Linked DNA regions of Homo sapiens: region 2 is linked to region 1. Evidence: promoter capture Hi-C in 16 types of primary human blood cells and fetal thymus (Javierre and others, 2016). All regions are on one chromosome and are shown on one strand. Each heading gives the region's core, a stretch centred on a gene start or on the middle of the fragment in contact. The rest is flanking DNA. Distances are from core to core; before and after follow the strand shown.

What was found. Contacts are between HindIII fragments. The CHiCAGO score rates a contact against its expected background, and 5 or more counts as called.
Region 2: a fragment that was not itself captured here is called in contact with the fragment with the promoter of FGFR1 in region 1 in 2 of 17 cell types (M1 macrophages and M0 macrophages); the score reaches 8.1 in M1 macrophages.

The regions. Positions count from the first base shown.
Region 1 is chr8:38,466,992-38,474,283 of GRCh38, forward strand. FGFR1 (fibroblast growth factor receptor 1) reads right to left here and starts at 1,644. Exons shown (of 18, transcript NM_023110.3): 1 at 990-1,644. RefSeq lists silencers at 927-1,046, 1,057-1,186, 1,457-1,526 and enhancers at 1,384-2,370, 1,807-1,976, 4,988-5,781, 5,782-6,575, 7,206-7,292. The HindIII fragment of the contact is 10,295 bases long and covers 1-3,774 here.
Region 2 is chr8:38,774,575-38,781,866 of GRCh38, forward strand. It overlaps a transcript of TACC1 not described here. Among named protein-coding and RNA genes, the nearest start is that of TACC1, 9.0 kb to the right of the region's middle. The HindIII fragment of the contact is 1,490 bases long and covers 3,998-5,487 here.

The sequences.
Region 1 (7,292 bases), core at 394-2,893:
GCAAACATGGGTCGTAGCCTCACTTTTCTCCCAACCCCAAACATAACGGTAGGGGAAGCGAGGTGCAGAGGGGTCTGGGCCAGAGAAGCATACGCATCGCTGCCGAGTGAACCACACCGGACAAAAACCCTCATCCCTTCCCCCACCTCTAGGAACCAGATTGGGACCGAACGGTCCTTCCGCCCCCATCCCACACCTCGGCTTAACGACCGTGGGTTGTCCTCCCGTTCCCCAAACTTCCGACCCTTTCAGAGACCGTCCAAGTCATAAGATCACCCCTTCTGGAAAGGGGAGTCGTTTTTCGCTCTCAGCTCAAGCAGATTCAGCCATTTGGTGACGACACCTCCTTAAAACCTATTCCAAGAGAAGCTAACCTAGCCCTCCACGTCCTCCGCAGTTCATCTCCCACCCCATCCGACCCCAACCCGCACCCCAGGCTTTCCCGGGGGTGGAAAAGGACTTAGGAATGCCCCGGATTTTTAGCGTTGAGCCCAAAGCTACCTGCTGAATTGGGGGTGAATCCCCAAAAGGGGACCAAAAAGACATGGAGTGGAATGCAACACACACACATAACACACACAACGCATCCCACCTCGCCGCCCACTCCCGCCCTCCTCCCCAGTCCAGGAAACCGCGGGCCTCGCCGCCTTCGCCCCGGGCCTGTCCCTCCCGGGACTCACTGAGGAGCCGCCGCCGCCTCGCCAGCTCCCGAGCGCGAGTTGGAGGAAAAGTTGGGCGGCGGGAAGAGCGGCGGGACGAGCGCAGGGAGGGGGCGCAGGAGACGCGGACGGAGGGAAGGGAGGGGAGACCCAAGGGGCGCGGATCGCCCGGGAGGGAGCCAGGAGGTGAAAGGGGCGGGCGGCGAGCGGAGGGAGGCGCCGGCCCCGGCTGGGCTGCGGCGGGCAAAGCGCGCAGCCGGGAGGCTCCGGCGCCGGGGGCCGCTCGGGACGCCAAGCCCGCCCCAGATCCGGGGGCGCCGCGGCTCTTACCTCGCTCGGCGTGGAGGTTCCGCCTCGGGAGAGTCCGCCGTGGCTTGTGCGAGCGGGCGTGTGCCCGCGTCCCCGGCTCCGGCCCGCCGCCCCCGGGCTCTGTTCGGGTCCTGGCGGGGTCGCAAGAGCTCCGCGGCCGGCGCTCGACTCCCGGCGGCGCTCGGTGCTCGGCGCCTCCAGCCCGGGCGGGAACAATGGAGCCGGAGCTGGTGCCCCGGAGGCGGGGCGGGGGGAGGGCTCCCGTCCGCCACCCGGGGTCTCCAGACCTTGTGCCCCCCTCCTCCAGAACGCAGCGGCGGCGCCTCACTTTCCTTGCAGACCGGGCTCCATCGCCCTGCGGAGGCCCCGGCGCCGCGGCGTGCCCGACTGCAGCACGGGTACCGTGCGCCCTGCGGGGCGCCCCGAGCTCGGACCGGAGAAAAGTCCTTGGGTTCCGCGGCTTTTCAAGCAGCGGCGCGCTCGCGGCCGGGGAAGGCGAGGTCGCCGCAATGCGCTACGAGGGGTCTCGGTCCCGTCCGGACGTGGCCGCCCAGCTCCCGGCACACCCGGGTTCCTCCGCGCGCTGCGGCTGCACCGGCGTCCCGGCTCCCGCTAGCTGCCGCCCGCCGCCGAGGACGCCGCGCCTGTGGCCGCAAGAGCGCTCCGAGCGCTATGCGCCGGCGGGGCGCGAGGGCTCGCTCTCTCACTCCCACCCGCGCTGGTCCCTCCTCCGCCTCCGCCCCCTGCAGCTGCCTGCTGGGCCTTGTAGTTCCCCAGCCGCGGCCCCAAAGGACGGGGAGCGGGCCGAGCTGTCCGGCGCTCTGCCCTTCTCTTCCTACAGCCTGGTCTCCTTTGGCGTTTGCGCCCCTGCATCTGAGCACGTCCCAGAGGGCGCCGGAATGTCAGGCCCTAGACATAGCAGCGGTTTGGGGGCTAGGGGGCAGGTGAAGAGACGCCGCAGCCTTGAGGTTGTACCTGGTAGCGTGGGCTTTGGAGTCTGTGCGCCTTGGGGAAATGATTTTCGCGCTCTAAATCTCTGTTTTCCCATCTGTAAATGGGGGATAATAGTGCTTTTCACATAGAGTTGAGGCGTCAACGAGGGCCTAGCGCATAGTTAACACTTAGTAAATACAAGCCGGTTTTATTATAAGGTCAGCCCCTCCTCAAACCCTTCCCTTGGATTTCAGCTTTCCCCAGCCACATAATTTAGGTTTTGTGGTCCACCGGGAACTGGACCCTGTAAATTCTACAGCGATGCTGTTGGCTTCCAGAAGTCTCCAGCCTGCAGTGAATGTCTAGGAAGCAAAGAGTAAGCAGTGGGAGTTGAGGGGAGACGTGTGGTTGGTTTGGAAATTAATCACAGCCCACTCAGAACACCCTCCAGTACTGTGGAACACAGGAAAGTGGCTAAAATGCTTCCCCCTGAGTCTTCCCGCGAAGTGGTATAATGTAGTGGTTCCCTAATCCAGATGGACACGGGTCCTAGGGAACGTCTGAAAAATACAAGTTCATGGGCCTGCTCAGACATGAGGAATCACGCTGTCCCAGGAAGGAGCCAAGAGCCTTTATTTTTTCCAAGGCTCCTTGGGGCGTGTGATGTGAGCCCAGGCTGAGGCCACCATTGGGGTGGGAAGTAGGCAGCACTTGGTCTGAAGGATTCCTCCATTCTGTCCATCATTTATGAAGTTTGATGTAGGACAAATCATGCATCTGATAAAATCAAAACGGGGTATCTGTTGATACTCCTTCACAAGATGGTCATAAGAATCAAATAAAATAATAGCTCTCAGTGGACCAAAAATATTACACAAATGGAAGTCACTATGAAAGGTAGTGGCAGGGCCTGTTCCCTTACCATCACCCACCTCAACCCCGAAACTTGTAGAAGTTTGAATACTGAATGAGATCCCCCCACCCAACTCCTCACCCAACCCACCCACGCCTCCCTGGCTAATTTAAGAAAAGAGTTGGCCGGGTGCGGTGGCTTATGCCTGTAATCCCAGCACTTTGGGAGGCCGAGGCGGGTGGATCACGAGGTCGGGAGATCGAGACTATCCTTGCCAACAAGGTGAAACCCCGTCTCTACTAAAATACAAAAAAATTAGCCAGGCATGGTGGCGCTTGCCTGTAATCCCAGCTACTGGGGAGGCTGCGGCAGAGGAATCGCTTGAACCCGGGAGGCGGAGGTTGCAGTGAGCCGAGATTGTGCCACTGCACTCCAGCCTGGCAACAGAGCAAGACTCCGTCTCAAAAAAAAAAAGAAAAGAAAAGAAAAAATGGTCCTCGCGCTATTTTTCTAATCCACCAGTAGGTGACAGACTAGTGGCCAACACAGTGTTATTCACATAGTAGACACTCATGAAATCCCTTGACTGGCCAAAGAGCAAATATTCAATAAGTATTTGTTGAACAAATGAGTAAATAAACAACTAAATTACAGCTCACGCCTGTAATCCCAGCACTTTGGGTGGCCGAAGCGGGAGGATCACTTGAAGCCAGAAGTTCAAGACCAGCCTGGGAAACAAAGTGAGCCCTTGTCTCTACAAAATATTTTTAAAAATTAGCTGGAGGTGGAGGCTGAAGAAGGAGGATGGCTTGAGCCCAGGAGTTTGAGGCTGCAGTGAGCTATGATCCAGCCACTACACTCCAGCCTGGGCGACAGAGTAAGACCCTGTCTCAAAACAAAATAATACAAAACAAAAAATGAGAAACAAGAACTCATATCTTTGTTGAATAAATGAACTTCAGCCACTGTTTATAGGGTTTTCCCCTAAGAGCCACCATTTAACCTTTCAGCTCCTGGTCAAGCTTGGTTTATACTCCTATGTAAGCTGCCCACCCATTAGGCCTCCTGCATTTTAATTACTACACATCACACGCTTGTAAGAAGGCCATACTCACACCCTACCCCCAAGAGGCCTTCCCTGCCCATCCCAGCTTTGTCAGTCCCTGGACCCCCTGCTCACTTGCTGACTATCCACTGAGTTGATACCGTGCTTTGTTAGTGGTTTTCCTTACTCTGCTTTCTTTCTAACTGGTTTCTAAACTGCTTTAGGGCAAGGATCTTATCTAGGTGTCTGACCAATTCTACACAGGAGGTTTTCCATGTATATTTATTGTTCATGGACTTGCTAAGCATAACCAACCTGGGTTACCAGAGGAGGAAACACAATTTGAGGGAATATGATTGGGAAGACAAGCCATGAAAAAAATCCAGCATTTAATGTTAACACCCAGCTACTATTTTTCTACTTTGCTCCGTAATTCTTCTCAAAAAAGGGTTTTTTTTGTTTTCTTTTTTTTTTTTTTTCCTGAGATGGAGTCTTGCTCTTTTTGCCCAGGCTGGAGTGCAATGGCACGATCTCAGCTCACTCAGCTCACCTCTGCCTTCTGGGCTCAAGCGATTCTCCTGCCTCAGCCTCCCGAGTAGCTGGGATTACAGACACCTGCCACCATGCCCAGCTAATTTTTGTATTTTTAGTAGAGACAGGGTTTCACCATGTTGGCCAGGCTGGTCTCGAACTCCTGACCTCAGGTAATCTGCCCACCTTGGCCTCCCAAAGTGCTGGGATTACAGGCGTGAGCCACCATTCCTGGCCCAAAACAAGGGGTTTTAAATCAAGCCCCTTTTTCTTATGATTTAGAACCATTGTAGGAGTATCTTGAACCCCAAATAAAAGGCTAAATAATGCGTTCTTGATTTAAACAGAAAGATAATGATCTAAATGCTTGTTTGGGGTTGAGGGACATGGGCCTGCTGCTGAAAAATCCTCTATAGATTTATCAAGAAGCCAAAATGAAAGCAAGTGGCCAACTTGCCAGGGTCCCTCCTCCACTTCTCAGGGAAAGAGCTGATGGCAGCTGAACAGAGAAGGTGAGAAACTCAGCAAAGGCATGGGCTGTCCACACACTGCAGACAGGTTTCTGAATAATTGAGAGTTGGCTGCTTTTATCCTTCCAGCCCACCTCGCTCCTTTTCTGTCCCACTCCTCTACTCGCCCTCTTTCTGAAATGTAGCCCTCCCATTTCTGGAAGGGCCCCAGGCCAGTGGAGGGAGAGTGTCCCTAGGGCAGCCCTGAGCTGCTCCAGGCAACAGGGGTCAGACAGCAGCTCTGCCTGTCTCTGTTCTGCCCGAGGCCTCCTGGCACCTTGCCTCCCATACAGAAATGTAACCTTCCCTCTGAGATAACAAAGAGCTGGGAGGGTCAGGGAGGATTTGTCGGCCCTTCGCCCTGCCAGCTACATGTCTAAGGGGAGACAAAGGCCCTCATGCTGGAGGGCCTGATAACTGGTTGGGGGCCTGTTGCCTCCCACATCTGTGGGAGGAGGAGACCACTGCTGAATGAAACGAAGGGAAACGGAGCTCTCCCCAAAGCCCGGCCAGCTCTCTTTGTTTGGGAACACTGTAGGAAATCCCTTCCCTGTTCCTCCAGCTACTTGTGTCCTCAGAGTTTTCCCTGGCAGACGGGAGCTCCTCTTCCCCTCTCCCCACATTCCTTCTGCCCCTGCTCTATCTGGGTTCTGTTATTTTAGGGCTCAGCTGTGCCTACCAGGAATGATCACCCCACTACCCTGGGTCGATACTGCAGAATTAACAATTCTTTGTTATGGAACAAGTCAGGTAAAGTAAGCACCATTGACATGGGGCAAGGTTGCAGAACTTCCAGCCCAGGCTTCAAGAGTCCCCAGGATGTGGTGAGAGCTGGCAGAGTCTCCACTCCGAGAGCTGGTTGCAGAAGGGGATTCGGGAGGAGGGAACTGTCTGGGGTTTTCCCTACAAAGTGGATGGTTCACAGGTCCTGGGAGCAGGTGGGCAGCCAAGCCTTTTGCCCCAGGCCCCTGGAGTTAGGGAGCAGCAGTCAGTCACCATCTGGCCACCATTTGGTGACCCCTGTCTGTTCCCAGAGCAGCTTCAGCATGTCAGGGAAGGGAGGGTCTTATTTGGCTTGGTGTTTTTGTAAATAACATTCACTCTCTTCTGCCAATTTGGAGTGAGAAAGGGAGCGAGCTGTGTGGCAGCTCAGCTCTGTCTGGCCTGAATGCCACATCTATTCACGGAGCCTGGGGGTGTCAGGGAGCACTTCTTGTGTGTCAGGCGCTGTGCCGGGCACAGTGGATCCGAAGATGAAAGAGATGAGTGCACAGCCTGGGGGACCTCACTTGTCTTGTGGGGGAGACCAAACATGACACGTAGTGCCACCCGGGGGCATCTGCAGGGGGCTGTGGAAGGAGAGATCAGGAAGGAAGATGACTCAGGGGAAGCGATGCCTGAATCTTGAAAGATGGCAATGTGAAAATCCACAAACTCATCTGGGATAGCTGAGGAAAGCAAGCCTGGAGAGTTTGTGTTGAGGGGTGGGGGTGGGGGGTAGACAGTTGGTAGTCACTGAAGCATCGAATTATTTTGCTCTGAAGGGATGAACTTAGTCTCTGGGGTCAAACAGTTTTGAGCATGGGTCCTGATTCTGCCACTTATTGCTAGCTGTGTGATCTTGGGCAAGCTAGTTAGCTCCACTGCATTTGCTCAATGGTGAAATGAAGATAACAATGGTAACTGTTCTTCCCAGGACTGTTGAAAGGATTAAATGAGAAAATGTGTGTAATGCACTTGGCAAAGCGCCCAGAACATTGTAAATGCTCAATAAATGGTAGTCATTGTTGTTATTATTATTTTTTAGCCCAGGAACTTTCCTTTGATGGAAGACACCTTCTGGAGCCTGCATATCTTTGTGGCTTTTTTTTTTTTTTTTTTTTTTTTAGATAGGGTTCCTCACTCCCCCAGGCTGGAGTGCAGTGGCACGATCTTGACTTACTGCAGCCTCGACCTCCTGGGCTTAAGCAATCCTCCCACTTCAGCTTCCCAAGTAGCTGGGACTACAGGCATACACCACCATGCCCAGTTGGTTTTTGTATTTTTTTGTGGAGGTGATAGTCTCCTTATGTTGCTCAGGATGGTCTTGAACTCCTGGGCTCAAGCCATTCACTTGCCTCAGCCTCCGAAAGTGCAGGGATTACAGGTGTGAGCCACTGCACCCAGCCTTCTTTGTGACTTTCTTATGTATTTACCATCTCTACCCCCACTTCCACCCTGGATTCTCTGTTCCCCAACACCAGCTGCAGAAAAGGATATATTTTTCACCCTCATCTCCCTCTTCCTTGGTGTACCCCAAGATAAACAGCCCTTTTTGTTATAGATTTTACTGTGAAATAAGAGAAAAACAACAAGAACACATATGGGGAAGCTAAGGGGCCCTATTAAACCTCAGCGAATCCTTCCAGCTATGGTCGCTGGTCTAGGATTCTGACTCCCTTCAGAACACTAAA
Region 2 (7,292 bases), core at 3,493-5,992, 310 kb after region 1:
CTTGAATTCCTGGGCTCAAATGATCCTCCCATCTTGGCCTCCCAAGTAGCTAGGACTACAGGTGTGCATTGCCACACCAGGCTAATTTTTTTTTGTTTTTGTTTTTGAAGGGATGGGGTCTCACTATGTTGCCTAGGCTATAAAAATATTTTTAAAGGCCAGCCACGGTGGCTCACGCCTGTAATCCCAGCACTTTGGGAGGCCGAGGCGGGCGGATCACGAGGTCAGGAGTTCGAGACCAGCCTGTCCAACATGGTGAAACCCCCTCTCTACTAAAAATACAAAAATTAGCTGGGCATGGTGGCACATGCATGTAATCCCAGCTACTCGGGAGGCTGAAGCAGGAGAATCGCTTGAACCCCAGAGGCAGAGGTTGCAGTGAGCGAAGATCGCACCACTGCACTCCAGCCTGGGTGACACGGTGAGACTCCGTCTCAAAAAAAAAAAAAAAAAAATGAAAACCAAAAACTTTTAAAACAAAGTACAAGACTATTTGTATGTATTTGCTTTATAAAACAATTTACAGTGCCTTTTAAAATGAGGTGAATTTTGGGGAGAAGTCATATCTCTATTATACATACCAAGTGGGCATATCTTTTGGGGCTGGGGGGAAACTCCAGAATTCATACCTTCATACCTTCCTTGCAAGGGTTATGAATCCTAGTTGTGCACTTTGGTGCCTGAGTAAACCTTCTTCCAAAAAGAATGATATTCGACCCAGTGATCTTTGGCAAAGGTCCTTTCCAGCTAAAAATTTCTGTGGTTCTATGAGATCTGAGATGGATGCTTAGGTTAGGAGTCAGTGATTATCTTAGTCTGTTAAGGCTACTATAAGGATATAATTGCCTGGGTGGTTTATAAACCAGTCATTTATTTCTGGAAGTTCTGGAGGATGGAGGTCCCCATGATTAAGGGACCAGCAGATTCCACATCTGGTGAAGGCTGACCTCCTGGATGTCTTCTCCCTGTGTCCTCATTTGGCAGAAGAAGGGAGAGGGAGCTGTCTGGGGTCTCTTTTATAAGGGCGCTGACCCCAGGAAGAACCCTCATGACCTAATCACCTCCCAAAGGCCCCACTTCTTAATATTCTCACATTGGAGTTTAGGTTTTAACCTATGAATTTTGGGGGGATATAAACAGTCAGTCTGTAGCAGTGATTTATCATTTGTTCAGAAAATAATGTAAAACAAATATATTCTGCTCAGTGTCTATGCCTTGGCCAAAGGAAACAGAAAACACATAAGATATTCCTATATCATACATGATGAGGTACAGGGAAGACCGGTAAGGATAAACTCGCTCTTGCTTGTCATAGTTCTATAAAATAATACAACAAAATAACTTGACTAATTGAGCCCATAAGAAAACAATTTCTAAAAATATTTTGTGTGTGTGCTAGAAATCGTCACTAGCACCAGTTAGTGTTGAAGCCAAAGAACAATGATTAATTCACTTATAGGATTTGGGTCAGTTATTATTTATTATTGTTATTATTTATCCTTAGAATTGGGCAAATATTGGAGTTATACAATCATATTATTTCAAGGAAATCTCCCCAAAGAAAATAATAACCTTCATCAATATGTAAATCCATTCTACTTGGCCTTTGTGAAATCTAAATATTGACTCCCTCCTTCTTCAACGTTTTTGTCCACATCAGTCATCTTTAAAAATGCAACTGCCTAATTTCTAGAAAGTCAGTATCACAGCTCAAGTCATTACGGCAGAAGGAAGGGTAGTCTCAGTCCTGTTTTTAGGATAATTAGGACATCATCCACGGGGCAGGCTTGAGTCTTTTGGTTCGGGAATTTTCTGCCCTGAGAAAAGACATCATTGAGATACAGGTAGAGTGTTCCTTATCCAAAATGCTTAGGACCAGAAGTGTTTCAGATTTTAGATTTTGGAATATTTGCATATACATAATGAGATAGCTTGGGGATGGGACCCAAGTCTAAACATGAGATTCATTATGTTTCATATACACCTTCTACACATAGCCTGAAGGTAATTTTAAACAGCAGTTGTAATAATTTTGTGCATGAAACAAAGTTTTGACTGTGTTTTGACTGTGACTGGCCACATGAAATTAGGTGTGGAATTTTCCACTGTGGTGTCATGTTGACAAGCAAAACGTTTTGGATTTTAGATTGTTGGATTAGGGATGCTCAACCTGTGTAGATTTATCATTTTTAAAAATGCTTCCATCTTTGAAGGAACTTTCATGTAATCCTGTTCAGAAGAATGTAGAACGAAATTTAAGGCAGGTTCTTCCCATACCTTCATCTAAGGAAGCTTAGATGCTGAAATCCCCCAGAGGAGGTTGTAATGTGAGGGTGGAGATGAGGCTGCTGTTACAAAGGGGCCCAGTGACACAGTCTGATAAAGAAGATAGACTTTTAGGCTGGGCACGGTGGCTCACGCCTGTAATTCCAGCACTTTGGGAGGCTGAGGCAGGCGGACCACCTGAGGTCAGGAGTTCGATACCAGCCTGGCCAACATGGTGAAACCCCATGTCTACTAAAAATACAAAAATCAGCTGGGTGTGGTGGCACGAGCCTGTAATCCCAGCCACTCTGGAGGCTGAGACAGGAGAATTGCTTGAACCCGGGAGGCAGAGGTTGCAGTGAGCCGAGATCACGCCACTGCACTTCAGCCTGGGCAACAGAGTGAGACTCCATCTCAAAAAAAAAAAAAAAAGAGAAGATAGACTTTTCTCTCTCATGGAACAGTCCTCAGGCAGCAATTAGTCTAGGGCCGCAGGCTGCTCTGCTCCCCAGTCAGCCTGGTGCGGGTTCTGTCTGTTCTGTGGCTCTATCCTGTCCAGAGTGTGGTCCTCACACAGCAGAAGTTGTGACACGCAGTTCACAACTTTTCGGCCGGGAGAGGCTGGACATGCAGTTTTCTTTTTAAAGACATTGGCCCAGGGGCCAGGCACAATAGCTCATGTCTATAATCCCACTGCTTCTGTAGGCCAAGGGGTGAGAATTGCTTGAGTCCAGGAATTTGAGACCAGCCTGGGCAACACAGCAAGACCCTGTTTCTACAAACAAAACAAAACAAAACAAAAAACATTAGCTGGACATGGTGGTGTGCACCTGGATTTCCAGCTACTCAAGAGGCTGAGGTGGGAGGATTGCTAGAGCCCAGGAGCTCGAGGCTATAGTGAGATATGATTACACTACTGCATTTCAGCCTGGACAATAGAGCAAAACTCTGTCTCTAAAAGAGAAAAAAAAGACACTGCCCCAAATTTGCACTTACCCCTTGTGCTCACATCCCATGGGTGAGAACTGAGTCACAGGCCACACCTAGTTGTAGAGAAGGAAACGTGGCCTCTTGCTGTGTGACCATGTGCTCAGCAAAAATTCAGAGGGTTCTTTTGCTAGAAGAAATAAGGAAATGATGGATACAGATGGATACAGGATGTGGGGTGAGGGAATTAGGCTCTACCATGGTGATCTTGTGGAAATTCAAAGAGTAGAGGTGCATAGACACACAATGTTAAAGAAGCATTATAGTTTTTCTTTTTTATCTTTGTGTGTGTGCATGTGTGTAGAGATGGGCTCTCACTGTGTGGTCCAGGCTGGTCTCAAACTCCTGGGCTCAAGCGATCCTCCTGCCTTCGTCTCCCAAAGTGTTGGGATTACAATCATGAGCCACCACACCTGGCCTTTTGCTTTTTTATCTTAATAATTAAAATTGTGTGTGTGTGTGTGTGTGTGTATGTGTGTGTTTACAATGGGTACAGAAGGAACAGAGCCATGAATTATGTTTCACAATCTGTGTAGGAGATATCTTTTGACAGTTTTATCCAGTTTCCAACAGTTAAATATTTTTGTTTCCTCTAAGAAGACAGAGGTCAGTGTGACCCCCTCGCTCCATAAATGGACATTTCACTTACTGAGTTGAGGCCAGCTGAACCACTCCTGAGCCACAGGCAGGAATCTCTTTTGTTCTCTGGGCAGAGCTGAATTTACTATGAAGCTGAGGAAGCCTAAGCTTCAGTCCCCTCCCTTGCATGGGCCCCTTCATACTAGTGTGGCCCTAGCACTGTGTTCATGGGGTCCTTTAGCATTTTTCTTAAAGAGTGCTTCCCCAGTTTTTAGGCTTCCTGCTTCACAAAATCAGGCCTTGGCAACCTGTTTGATGCCTCCTTTCTTTGCTGAGCCTTGCTACTTTTTCCCAGATGGGGAGAGGCTCCTGGGTGTCATTTCCCTCATCAACATAGTTTCTTGGAAGAAACCACCCTAAAAGGAAGTATAGCGAAAGAGCATCCCAAAGAAAGAGATGTTAAAATTAATCCTTTTGCACCTCCCACATAAAGTATGCCTTTTATGCTCTGGCCCAATTTTTTGTGCCTTTGAGGATTCTCATTTGTATCAGTAGGGGTCCTTGGGTTTTTTTTTTTTTTTTCTTTTCTTTTTAGACAAGGTCTCGCTCTGTCACCCAATCTGGAATGCAATGCCACAATCACGGCTTACTTCAGCCTTGACCTTCTGGGCTCAAGCGATCCTCCTGGGCTCAAGATTAGCTGGGACTACAGGCGAACACCACCACGCCTGGCTACTTTTTAATTTTTTTATAGAGATGGGGTTTTGCTATGTTGCTCAGGCTGGTCTCAAAGTCCTGGGCTCAAGTTATCCTCCTGCCTCAGCCTCCAAAAGTGCTGGGATTATAGGAAGATGCCACTATGCCTGGCTGAAATGCTCTTTTTTTATGGTACTTTGGCTCAACTGGCAAATGCCTTCTTGAAATGAGCATTTCACACTTTGGTCACCACACAGTCACTTAGATGAAACCCACAGGCTGCCCAGTAACATGGGCTCCCACTGGGCATTTGGGGAAGGGCACACCCTGCCTGGAGTGGTGAGCACTGCTAGGCCTGCTCTCCGCCCTTTTCCACCCTCCGGGTGTCTTCAAAGCTGGCTGTTTTCTACACTAACTTCTGGCAGGTCTGGATTTTCCGTATAAGGGCTTTTTTGGCCAGTACTTCCTTATACTGAAGAATTTTATATTAGTTCCCTTTCAGATTCGAAAATCAATCTTTAGTCAACCTAAAACATTATTCCTGGAGTGGGGCTTGACTGTATGTGGGGAAGAGGAGAGGGAGAGACTGATGCAAATATGCACACACACATACTTTTTGCATACAATTTCAGGGAGGCCAGGACCTTCTGAAACCCTTCCTTGCTAAGCCTCTGCTGTAGAGGGTGAAATGCAGCCAAGTTAACTTGTTAACAACAACAAAAAGGCCGTAACAATACTTTCCTCCTGAGATTGTAGGAGTAAGTGGGGGAGATTAAATGAGACGATTCATGTAAAGTGTAGTGTCTAACACATAGTAAGCAGTTATAATTGTTCACTTTTCTTTTGGGGCTTAAATGATCTTACTTGTTTTCACGAGTTCCTTAGGTAATAACAATACTAACAGCCTTTGTTTTTCCATGGCCTGTTGTTTGCCTTTTAACTTGAAGGCACACAGTCAGAAGCTTCATTTTTTTAAATGTAACCAAATCTATCTTTATTTTGTGTCTGATTTCATTAATTACTTGTAAGTTGGATCCTCATCCTTCCTACAGAGCTCTGATAGATTCTGTTGCTTGTAGACTGTTTTCTCCCAATGGTTCGATTTTTATTATTTAGTCATCTAATCCATCTGGAATTTATCCTGGTATATGCTCTGAGGTAAGGGTTTAACTTGATCTTTTTTCCCATTGCCAGCCAACTATGCTCCAATCATAAATCTTCCTTCTCCTTACATATTGTAACATGTTCTTTATATTTTTGTTGTTTGTTCTTTTTTTTTGAGATAGAGTCTCGCTCTGTTGCCCAGGCTGGAGTGCAGTGGCACGATCTTGGCTCACTGCAACCTCCGCCTCCCGGGTTCAAGCCATCTTTTTTGGTATATAATAAATTCCTGTATCTTGTAAGATCTTTTCCTGGGCTTTCTGTTCTGTGTTACAGAACAAAGATCTGGCTATTTTTGCATAAATGTGTCTCAATGTCTTGTAGGACTAGTCTATTCTTCACTCTTCTTGTTGGTGTTGTTTTTTTTTGTTTTTTTTTTACAAAATCTAAAATATGTTCACCAGTTTATTTTTCCAGATAAACTTTTAAACATTATTGACGAATTCTAAGAAAAATCCCCTCGGAATTTTGATTGAAATCAAATTAGCCCTGTAAGTTAACTGGGTGGTATTGCCATCTTAGCAACAGTGTTTTACCAACTTGGAGTTTCAGGACCAAAATACAGTAATCAAAATTTTACTCCAAAGAGATAAAAGCTGGAGTTTACAGGATGCTGTGTATCATGTCACAGAGTTGGCTGCTTATTTTCCCATCTTTTTATTTCTTAGAAATACAGGAAGATTATTGGTCACAAACACATGAGTTACTGTAATGAAATTCCCCCAAATCCCTAGACTAAGGAATTAAGTTGGAGTTGGTGTCACAGTTATTTTTGAAAGCTTTTTGTGATTTTATTCTTTTCTTCTGGGTGGACCTTTTCTCCCCACATCCTCCTAGCAGTGAATCTGCTTTTGCCTTTCACTGCCCCTTCCAACCACCATCCCAATCTGTTACCTTGTAACTTCTTAGTGACAAGAAGACGTATGGTCTCCTGAAGATTCACAATATATTTATGAGGATAGTGAGTAGAATATTTTATATTAGGGTGATCTCAAAACATTTGGGCTATATGATTAATGTTCTACTAATCCATAAGGATGCATTGTTTAGGACATTTATTTTATTTTGGAGGTGGGGAAAAGAAGAAGGAATAAAATGGCTGTAGGAGAAGAAATATTCTTCTTTTTTTTTTTTTTTGAGGCGGAGACTTGTTCTGTCCCCCAGGCTGGAGTGCAGTGATGCAATCCTGGCTCACTGCAACTTCTGCCTCCTGGGTTCAAGCGATTCTCTTGTGTCAGCCGTCTGAGTAGCTAGGATGACAGGTGCGTGCCACATGCCCAGCTAATTTTTGTATCTTTAGTAGAGACGGGGTTTCGCCGTGTTGGCCAGGCTGGTCTCGAACTCCTGACCTCAGGTGATCCACCTGCCTCGGCCTCCCAAAGTGTTGGGATTACTGATGTGAGCCACTGCGCCTGGCCAGGAATATTATTCTACTTAAATGTCCTGAATTCCTTCAGCCTCTTTAATTCAAGTCTTAAATTCCACCCTCCCCACAAACAGGTAAGTGTAGTAAAGCAGATATCTCAAATTTGAAGTAATGTCCTTTACTAGAATCTTAAATTTATAAACAACATAGAGGAAGTTTCAGATGGTTTTCTTGTCTG